Regions from separate parts of the Homo sapiens genome. Here region 1 is linked to region 2. The links are contacts of gene promoters, found by promoter capture Hi-C in blood cells and fetal thymus (Javierre and others, 2016). All regions are on one chromosome and are shown on one strand. Each heading gives the region's core, a stretch centred on a gene start or on the middle of the fragment in contact. The rest is flanking DNA. Distances are from core to core; before and after follow the strand shown.

The links. The method cuts DNA at HindIII sites, captures the fragments that hold promoters and counts their contacts. A CHiCAGO score of 5 or more calls a contact.
Region 1: a fragment that was not itself captured here is called in contact with the fragment with the promoter of TMEM60 in region 2 in 1 of 17 cell types (M1 macrophages); the score reaches 6.2 in M1 macrophages.

Annotation. Positions count from the first base shown.
Region 1 is chr7:80,612,928-80,618,166 of GRCh38, forward strand. It overlaps a transcript of CD36 not described here. Among named protein-coding and RNA genes, the nearest start is that of CD36, 23 kb to the right of the region's middle. The HindIII fragment of the contact is 2,871 bases long and covers 1-2,849 here.
Region 2 is chr7:77,796,107-77,801,614 of GRCh38, forward strand. It overlaps TMEM60 (transmembrane protein 60), which reads right to left and starts at 2,328. Exons shown (of 2, transcript NM_032936.4): 1 at 2,148-2,328. PHTF2 (putative homeodomain transcription factor 2) reads left to right here and starts at 2,667. Exons shown (of 19, transcript NM_001395272.1): 1 at 2,667-2,865. RefSeq lists an enhancer at 2,088-2,197 and a silencer at 2,608-2,747. The HindIII fragment of the contact is 8,213 bases long and covers 1,172-5,508 here.

The sequences.
Region 1 (5,239 bases), core at 164-2,663, 2.8 Mb after region 2:
TAGTAAGTGATTCAAGTCTGTGATTGAATAATATTCCATATATTTAGGTAGTATATGGATTCAAAATGAGTAGAAATATTGACAAACATCCCATGCTAATAATCTACTTTGTAACTTCTCATAAATCTGTAGAGGAAGTAGTAGTAGAGAGAGGAGGGGAGATAAGGCTATAAATAAACTTGATTCCATGAGTCACACAAAGAAAAAGTATCTTTTCTTTATGGTAATGTAATATTTAAGACATTTGTAATATTCATAATTGTATTACTTTCTTTACATTATACATATATGCTTTTTAAACATGAGCTGCATGATAAATTCAAAGTTTCAGTGCCATATGTAAACTTAAGTTTCTCTATTTTTTCTTTTTGCAGGGAGGTGAGGGTTGCTCTTAAAATATGATAAAGGCAATACAAGAGAAATAGTGTGTTTTAACCACTGCTGTATTTATCATAGTATCTTGTTAATAAGCTACTTTGATTCTACTTTATGGAGATTTTTCCTTTAGTTACTCTTGAAGATATCATCTAAACCAAGAAAGATATTCATTCTTCTCTTTCTCCTTAAGGTCTATCTTTTCACAAGATCCTACTTCATCTTTCCTATTTTGGAATAAAACATGCAGCTCTGTTTTATGTGAGCCAGAAATAATTTACTGAACAGGAAACTGTAGTTAAGAAGTAAAAATCACAGTGAAAAATTTTAACTTTTAATGGGACAAAGAGGCTTGAATCTTTTACGGATGAGAGATGCTTGTCAGGGGCCTAAGAGATGGGGTTTATTTAAGTCTAGTCAGCAGTTTTGATTCTTAAATTTGAATAGTTCAAAAGTCAAATTAGAGTAGGATCCTGATAACTGAGTTGATTCCTTGTTAACAGTAATAAAAGGTAAATATTATCAATAAATATAAAATATCTACCAGTTACTTGGGAAGTTAATATAGTACTTTTGGAGTATATTTTATACAGAACCAAATGCATATAATTAGCTAATGTGCTTTTGGGTGTCTATATTTTGTAATAATACTATCTGAAAAGTTGTTACAGATAAACATTTATTATTTTTCTGAAAGTCAAAGGGATATTTTGTATGCCCGGCTTAGCAGCAGTTGTCTATTTGAAATGAAAATAAAAGAGCATTAATGCCAATCAGCTTTCTTACTAGAAATATTCCTGTACTTGATGTTTTTCCACAAACTCTTAACACATCACAGATATTCTTAAACTACTTGTATAAATTATACCAGAATAAAATGGGCATCATTCTCTTTTTTGTTTACATCGAATGTTTGTTTCTCCAGAGCACATCCGTATTGTGGAGAAACAATGGTGACTGTTTTTAATTGCAAAAACTACCCAGATTCTTTCTTGGAGAGCCTCCTTGTTTTCCACTGGGTTTAGACATAGGTTCTCTTTCACTCTTTATCCTACATTTTTAGACCATCATAATGTATTTATATTTTATACACCCACTGGCCAACAAGAGAATCTATATATATGTTCACTAAAAAGCAGGTTTATACAATTAGTTTACTCATTCCTTCTTCCTAGTAAGGTTCTTCTTTACTTGAGTCCAGTTCCTGACTCCAGAATAAAAATGAAATTATCAATGTCTCTTGTACATTAGTCTGTGATTTTTTTGCAGGGGTGCCCTCTGTATCTTAATCTTTGCTTCTTCTTCGCGGCTCCATCTTTCCCTCAAATTCCCCACCATGACACTGAAGTACTTCCCCGATTCTGCCCTTCCTTGGAAACCACATCTGAGTTCCTGACCCCAATTCCAATACCCCAGTTTATAATGTGAAGTGGGAAATTGGGGGATTAAATATTTCCTGATATCAGTTGAAAACTGTGGGTGCCCTTGTTATTTGCTCTGCTACTTGTTAGCTTTATACTGTATTTGTCGCTTCAACGAATGCCAATATAAAAGAAATGCTAAGTCCTTTGTTCCTTTGACCTTTTGTGTTTTTTTCCCCTCTGCTTGCATAGGGGCGTATCCAGTTTTCATTACTTCTCTTCTGTCTACCCCTGCTGTTATGTTCCAGAATGCCACCAAGATGAAAGCTAACCAAAAGTATTTCTCCCACTTGTGATAATGACTCTTAGGGCTTGCTTTCCAGTTTTACAGCCCTCTTTGCCATGGCTGCCACTACAAACTGCAAGCACATTCCCGTTAATCCAAACTCTGCCTAGAATGAGACCACATTCCCTTCATCAGGCTGAATACAAGTTTTAGTTCAGGGCCTTGTGTCTTTCCCGCATTCATTTATTAGTCATCGAGCTGAATTTCTCAACCCAATTTATTGCTTTTCATGTGACCTTTTAAAAGTACAAACTCGTATCCTGTCACTCCTCCAACTTATAATTATTTAATTGTTCTATTCTGCTTACAGAATAAAGTTCAATCTCCTTAGAATATCATGCAGGGGGCTTCAAGGTCTGGTATCCACCTGTTTTCCTCACTTTTTGCAACTTCCCTGAAAACCATTTTTGTACATTTGCAAGCATATCACTTCCTTTTTGCCTCTGAATTTATGCATGTTGTTCTTTCTGCTTCTATTGCCCTTTTTCCATCTTCTGTGATTAGAAAATATCTATTCATCCATTGAAGCCCTTCTGTTATTTTACAATCTATCTCCTATCAACAAAATCACAATCTATTCAAGACCATATTTTATTCATCTTTGCATGCCAGCGCCATGCTCAAAGCCTGGAGTATGATTAAAGGTCAGTTAGTGTTTGAATGAATAAGTTAGTTCTTTAGTACGTTTCCTTTCTCTTAACTCACAACTTGAAGTTGTATTATTTCTTTACTCTTCAGAATTTCTCCCAAAATATTCTAAGGCGGGAAGCTTCATGAAAACTCTTGGAGTTTTCTCTAATAGTCTTACCAAAACAAATGGAAGAGTCTTTCTTGGTTTCCATGATAGCTTTCTTTGTTTCAGATTGGTTAATTTTATAGTTCACTTTTCATTTGTCAGGATAATTCTGTTTTTAGGAAGGATAGAAGCTTGGACTTAATTTTATTTTGAATTTTGATTTAATTTTGATTTGATTTTATAGCCTTAACAGATAACACTTTCTTCCTTTAAAGAAATCTATCTTTCCAGGCAATAGGAGATCTTGTTGTATTTCTTTGTTCTTTAGAGTTGATTCTATAGATATTCCTTGACTTTTTGTTAGGGTTATATCCCAATAAAGCTAGTGTAAGTTAAAAATATGAAAATATCATTGTAAAAATGCATTTAATACATCTAATCTACTGGATATCATAGCTCAGCCTAGCTTATCTTATATGTGCTCAGAACACTTACATTAGCCCACATTTGGGCAAAATCATCTAATACAGAGCATATTTTAGAATAAAATGTGGACTATGTCATGTAATTAATCAAATCTAGCATTGAACTATGGTTTCTACTGAATGTATATTGCTTTTACACCATTGTGATGTTGAAGGGTTGTAAGTTGAATCATTGTAAGTTGGGGACCATCTGTGTGTGTGTGTGTGTGTGTGTGTGTGCCTGCACGCACACACACACACACACGCAATTTGAGCAGATAATTGTGTTATCAAGATGGTATGACAGTCCAGTATTTTAAAGTGATTTCTCTAGAGGAAAGTTATTATTTGACAAATACTATGAAAATAAATCTCAAACATTTTCTTAAGTCTCCAGTTGTTATCAGTTGGGATGATTTTGCCTGCAAGTAACAAAGTCCAAAAGAAGCAGTTTCTTGGGTACTTTTTATTTTGTTCATATAATAAGGAGTCAACAGACTGAATTAACCAGCTTGGAATCATCCTTAGGCTCACTGATATTACTTAATTCATAGGGCTCTAGGTTGGTTTTTCTTACTGTTACCCTACAAGTGCAAAGTGGCTACGGCGATTGTAAGGATCATGTCTTTATATAACAATGCCTAACAACAGTAAGAAACAAGTTTCTGTCTTGTTTCAGTCTTTTAAAACAGAAAACTATCACTACAGCTCTGTAGCTGACTTGTTTTTATGCCTCAGTGTCAGCATTTTGTTATATGCTTGCTATACATCTCATTATCAAGGAGAATTGTGGCTAAAACTAATCAATATTCAACCTCTGTAGCTTGGGAGAGGTTTTATAATCACATAGACATGAAATATCTAACACAAAATCAGAGCTCAGTGAGGAGAGATGAGGTGGAAAGAGTGGAAGTAAATTCTGTCATAGTAGGTCCTATTCTAATTTACATGAGTTCAATTTTTGAAAATTAAAATATATGTGTCCTCACACACAGGGGAACAACACACATGGGGGCCTTTCAGAGGGTAGACAGTGGAGGGAGAGAATCAGGAAAAATCACTAATGCGTACTAGGCTTAATACTTGGGTGACGAAATAATCTATAGAACAAACCTCCATGACACAGTTTACCTATGTAACAAACCTGCATGTGTACCCCTGAACTTAAAAGTTAAAAAAAAAATAAAATATATGTATCCTCAAAATAATTTTTAAAAAGTAAAATTGCTGTGAAGGGCCAGGCACGGTGGCTCACACCTGTAATCCCAGCACTTTGGGAGCCTGAGGTGGGTGGATTATCTGAGGTCAGGAGTTTGAAACCAGCCTGGCCAACATGGCAAAACCCCATCACTAATAAAAATAAATAAATTAGCCGGGCATGGTGGCAGGTGCTTGTAGTCCCAGCTACTTGGGAGACTGAAGCTAGAGAATTGCTTAAACCCATAAGGCAAAGCTTGCAGTGAGCTGAGATTGTGCCACTGCACTCCAGTCTGAACGACAGAGCGAGACTGTGTCTCCAAAAAAAAAAAAAAAAAAATTGTTGTGAGAAAAACAAGCTCTTCAAACGTACATTGGATGCTGAAGTTTCTATTTCTCACTTGACTATGATATTCTTTTCAATTACATCTGTGCTGCGGTCTTCTAGGGGTTTGTCATTAGAGAAAGGTCAGACTGATAAGATAGTAAAGTGCCAAAAGTTGGTCATGCCTAAATTCATTGGAAAAATTACTTAGTTTAGGACAGAATTTTATTCCATTTATGTAAAGATGATTACTATTTTCTGTCATGCACAGTACAGTTCTTTCATGAATATTGTTAGGAGAAATTTTATAAATTTCATAAATGCTTTTGGTTTTTTTTACACTGTTTCATATGGATAGTAATAGATTATAGTGTGATATATATATTTAGACCCTGCATTCAGGGTCTGAGTGCAGCAGCCAGCATTTAACTCTTA
Region 2 (5,508 bases), core at 1,078-3,577:
TTTGTATTTTTAGTAGAGATGGGGTTTCACCATGTTGGCCAGGCTGATCTCGAACTCCTGACCTCAAGTGATCCACCCACCTCAGCCTCCCAAAGTGTTGGGATTACAGGTTTGAGCCACCACGCCGGCCTCTTTTCTAGAATATTTTCTATTTTGCCCTTACAGTTTTTCAATGCTAAATTTGCTGATTCTTGAAAACCTAGAATTTTGATTATGAATGCATAAAACTTAGCTTGGGATAGCATTTATTATATTTAATCTTCACATATAGGTTTATGATATGTTCCTCTACTTAAGTTTTTTATACCAACCTTTATGGCCACTTGGAAAAAGGATAAGTAGAATGGGAAATCAGAAGCCAGACTGCATGCAGCTGGGTAAGGAGTTAACAGAAGACCAAGAAATGGAAACAATTGAGAACATTTTATTCCTTTGAGGCATTTGGAGAAGAGAAAAATGAAAGATAGGGTATATGAAACTGAAAGAAGAAATTTTCAGGAAAGGAAGAATTTATGACTATAAACAGAAATAAGCCAATGGGGAATGACACTGAAGATGAGAGAGGATACTTGATGGAAAGAGAAAAAGATCAGAAGGTGCTAGGGATAGGAACAAAAGCATGCGTGGTAGGAGGAAAGATGCAGGAAGATAACAGGGAAAAGGTGAAGGAACTGGCTAATTGAGCCAAATACCCTAGATTAGCGTGCTCAATTATATTTTAGAACTAACTTTGATGTACTGTGCAACATCTCTACTACTTTAAATAGTGGGTGGCTATCACAGTGCAAGAGGACACATCTGTTCTATTTCAACAGTTAAGTATTAGTCTCCTAACTCACCTCTTTTCCCTTATACCCATCTAGTGGCACTTAAACTTGTTTACTTAATTGGCAAAGGCTTCATACTGCAGTAATTTTGCTTCTAAGGAGGCATTTTTCTGTGTTGGTTTCCTTTCCCGGCCAGAGGCTGCCATAGAGTGGGATGTGGGACTGAATTTGGAAGCAGGGTTGGAGGGGTGTGTGTTGATTAATAACCATGGATGGATTTCATCCCGTAAATTGCACAATCCCCACCTCCAATCTATCAGGCCGTTTTTGTGAACCTCTGAAAAACGGTTTATGATTATACACTTGCTTAAACCTAACTGTTCCATCTGCTATCGGATAAGACAAGCTTCATTTTTTTCTTACATTTGGCTGTACTTACCACAGGTGCTTTAGGGCTGGAGGTGAAAGGATGCAAGTAACAATCTTATTGTGCCTACAAGATTTATAATGTGGGATGCAACAAAATTCTGTTATGTTCTTGCACGGAAATACCCTCAATGGGGAAGCACTGCTGATACTTAAATGACGATTGAAGGATTGTACGCCTGTATGCTGAGCTACAACGATGACATACGATCCCAGTTTTACATTTACGTCTTCATCAATTTGAGCAGTCGTTATGTTTCCTACTATTCTCTCCACAAGAAAGGGGGAGGTGCGTACTCCAAAAATGTGCTCAACTAAAATGTTTCCCATTTAAGGTGGTTATTTCTGGCACTAGGAAGACAGTTAAATATTTGTTAATGATTCCTTACTCATTTTTAAAACCTTCGGAGTTACCCCTGTATGGACATATATAGAGCCCCACCCACATAGCCCACGGCTGGGTATCAGCCCCCATTTCCCTTCTCTCGCCACTGCCAGTAGTCTACCAAGTGAACCTGCCTCATCCCAAAGATAATTTTGCTTCATGAGCCCACATATTTATTCTTCTTCATAATGAGTCGCTTTTGAAAAGCCCGTGCAGCAACAGCCTTGGCCAAAGGAACAGCGTTCTGCTTACAACTTAGCTCATCTGGGGGCCTATTTGCCCCTGGAACTTCAGGACGCTCCTAAACTATACTTGCCCTTCTGCAAACACCGACAGTCGGCTCGCGGCGCCCCACCGGGACGCTCCCCTTTCATGGGCTGTAAGCCCAGCACATGCTGGAGTTTAACACGGTTCCTGCTGGATGCGCACAGAAGCCCTGGAGCCAAGCAGGCGTGTGCGCGTTTGGGGCTGGCTGTGTGATGGGTTGAGGGTCGGCCGCACAGCCCACGGAAGCATCAGGAGACCAGCGCCGGCGTACGGTGCGGGCTAGGGCAGAGCCCCAGACTCACCTGGCAGCGCTGCCGGCCGGAAAGCGGAGAGGGACGCGAAGATCAGCAAATTCGCCAGTTTGGATCCTTGTCCTTTTCCGCCCTTTTCCCCCCATTAAATCCAGAACCCGTCACATGATAATTAAGAAAAAACTTCAGTTCCGCCTCCTCAAACGACTGCGGTAGAGGATCTCTCAGTTCTACCTCAGTGCCGCGCCCACATCCGGGGCTGGTTCTCACCGCCCCTGAGCCTACCCTATAGGTAGAGAGGACGCCAATCTGGATTCAGAGGTCCCTTTTCCGCGGTAATTGGACCATTTGTCCGCCAGTGCAAACCAACCGACCTTTCCTTACTTTCGGGTTCGACAGAAAGGCGGCAATAAAAAGACCCATTGGTCCCGCCTCTCTACTGTCACGGGTTAGTAGGGAAGTCAGTCCAAGATCAGCCTGGAGTTTCCGTGCTCCCATTGGGCCCACAGATGTTAATCAGAGCAGCCGGCGCTCAGCTCCGCCCTCTCGGGACGCCCCGCCCCTCCTCCCATCCTCCCTGCCCGCGCGCAGTGACTGCAGGCTCCGGCGCAAAATCCTGCGGGAGAGGGGGTGGGGCAACCCTCTGGAGGCAGCGCGCCCGCGGGCAGCCTCGTTGTGGCTCCTTGGGCTCTGTTGGCGGCGGCGCTAGCTTCGGAGTCTCCCGCGCGCACCTCAGCCGCCTCCTAGCGGCGCGGCGCTCGCTCCTACGGTAAGAGCGGCATCACCTCCGCGCTCGGGTGGGCAGTGTGGAGGTCGTCGAGTTCTGACAGAATTTCGAGGATGGATCGGGACGAGGGAGGAGAGCGGTCGTCGGGATGGAGGTGGGGGCTCCGGGGCCAACGCGTCGCCCTCCGTCGCCGGCGACTTTCCCGGCAGTCTCCCGTACCTGAGGGCCGGGGTCAGCCGCGACCCCTTCTCATCAGTCGGCCGGTGGCGGAGGCTCAGCCGCCTTCCTCCCGAGCTCGCGCGGTCCTCAAGTCTTGATGGTGACGGGCCGAAGCCCAGCGCGCCACCCGCCCCTCGGGCCCCGCTTCCAGGCCCCTGTCCTTTGCTTCCTTCCCTTGGCGCTGTGCTGAGGGGTCGTCGGGTCCTGGAAGGGCGTTCAGGGGTCTCGGGTGGCTAGCCCGGCTGGCGGGGAGATGTCAGCTAGCGGCCGGAGGAGCGGGCTCGGGAGGGGGCGGCGGCTCGCGCGCTGGAGGAGGTGGAAGGAGGGTCGCTGCCCTGCCCCCTCTGAGCAGGCGGCAGTCGAGTTTTCTGATCCCAACACGGCGGAGTGGGTGCTTAAGGCATGGGCCTTAAGGGATAGTTCCCGTCTGGAAACAATACCGTGCTCCATCAGCATGCTTCAGCTTTTCTTATTTTTATCTGCCCAGTGTTGACAGCCAGCATTCTGGTATTGTCCTTCGAGTCATGGCTTTCTAACTCAGCACCTCCTTGTGTAACTTCAGGGATCATTCTGTCACTAATCTGTCACCCTTCTTATTTTTAGCGTGGCGAAAACAAGGAACTGCCTTATACTAACCTGGGCAGTGCAGAATCTGGAACAATTTATTAATCTCAGTGTGTACTTTACATGCCAAGTAATTTTGAAATTCATGGTGAATATTAAATATTTTGTAGTTTTCGGTTGCTTTCTTTGTTAATAGTATATCCTCCTTGCTTTGAGACTACTTTTCAGGTGTGATACTTTAATCTTAAGGTTTTTGGTTAGCTTTTGCCATTTTTAAACGTTTCTTTCATTTTTTTTTTCTCCAAGACTTTGGCAAGAGACTTAGTATTTGATCTTGTTTTCAGGTATTTTTGTAAAGTTTATTTTCTTTCAAACTGGGCTTTTTTCACCATATTTTTAATATTGGAAGGGGAATTCTGAAAGTCTGGAAACTGCACACTTTAGCCTAAAGAGTCACAAAACAGTATAACAATTTGAAATCCTAACTTGGATATGGTGTATGGACTGCAAATTTTAAGAGAAGGAAATGGATATGCGTTATCAGTTGTAGTGGCTCCACCTCCATAACGTAGAGGAGAGGAATCTGGAGGTCTGCGGAGAATGAGCCATGTCTGGGGCCAGAAACAGTGGTTCCAGGAAATATTTTTGCCCCAGAAATAGCCTGCCTCCCACACAGACTGGCTGTCTGAATGCATCTGATAGTTTTAAGTTAGGTGTTAGTGAGGTGGAGAGTTTTCGTGTTCCAATTTTGACCACTTTCTGGTGGAGCATGAAAATGTGGTGAGTAAACAAGTATAGTATACAATGGGGGCACTCTTGCATAGATAGTCAAGCCTCCAAGAGTAAACTTTTTTTGAGCCCAAACTGGCACTGGACAGTTGGCCCTAAAAATGAAGAAGGTGGCCCACCCAATTTTTAAACCATGAACTTTTTTTGGCTGGTCCATTTAATGCAAAATTGCAAGGAATATGTAATGAAAAAAACCTTCACTAAACTGAAGAGAATTTAGGGTGTCATGTGGATAAAATGAAACTCGAAAATAGTTGGACTACTTGTATATTATTTAATCATTTTAGTCCTGTGAGATGGGTACTGATTACTGTCATTTTATAGATGAGCAAACCAAGACTTAGTTTAACTAATTTGTTCAAGATTTCTTCACAAATGAGTCAGTAGAGGTGAGATTCACACCTAAGCAGTCTGATTCCAAAGCCTACATTCCAAGCCATTATACTTTATTACCACAATAAAATTGGCTTCTTGGAGACTTTATAGTAGGAGACTACTCAGTGGAAAATAACACTGCAAAACCGTAAATTGAATCCACTATTGTACACAGTAACACTTTGAGATCATTGTATAATAGGCACTGTTGGATTTTGCTGAAGATAAAGGGATGGAGTCACCTTCTCTGTGTTTGAGGAGCATTCATTTGATGGGAGAAATAGATATTTGAACAAATGACGATAATACAATATATACAGATTGAGCATCTGTAAACTGAAAATCTGAAATGCTCTAAAATCTGGAACCTTTTGAGTGCCAAGATGATGCCACAAGACACTTGACTTCATGTGACAGGTTACAGTCAAGCTGGGTGCGGTGGCTCACGCCCGTAATCCCAGCACTTTGGGAGGCCAAGGCGGGTGGATCACCTGAGGTCAGGAGTTCAAGACCAGCCTGACCAATATGAAACCCCGTCTCTACTAAAAATACAAAAAAAATTAGCCGGGCGTGGTGGTATGCACCTGTAGTCCCAGCTACTCGGGAGGCTGATACAGGAGAATCGCTTGAACCCAGGAGGTGGAGGTTGCAGTGAGCCGAGATCGCACCACTGCACTTGGCCTGGGTGACAGAGCAAGACACCGTCTCAAAAACAAAAACAAAACAAAACAAAAAAAC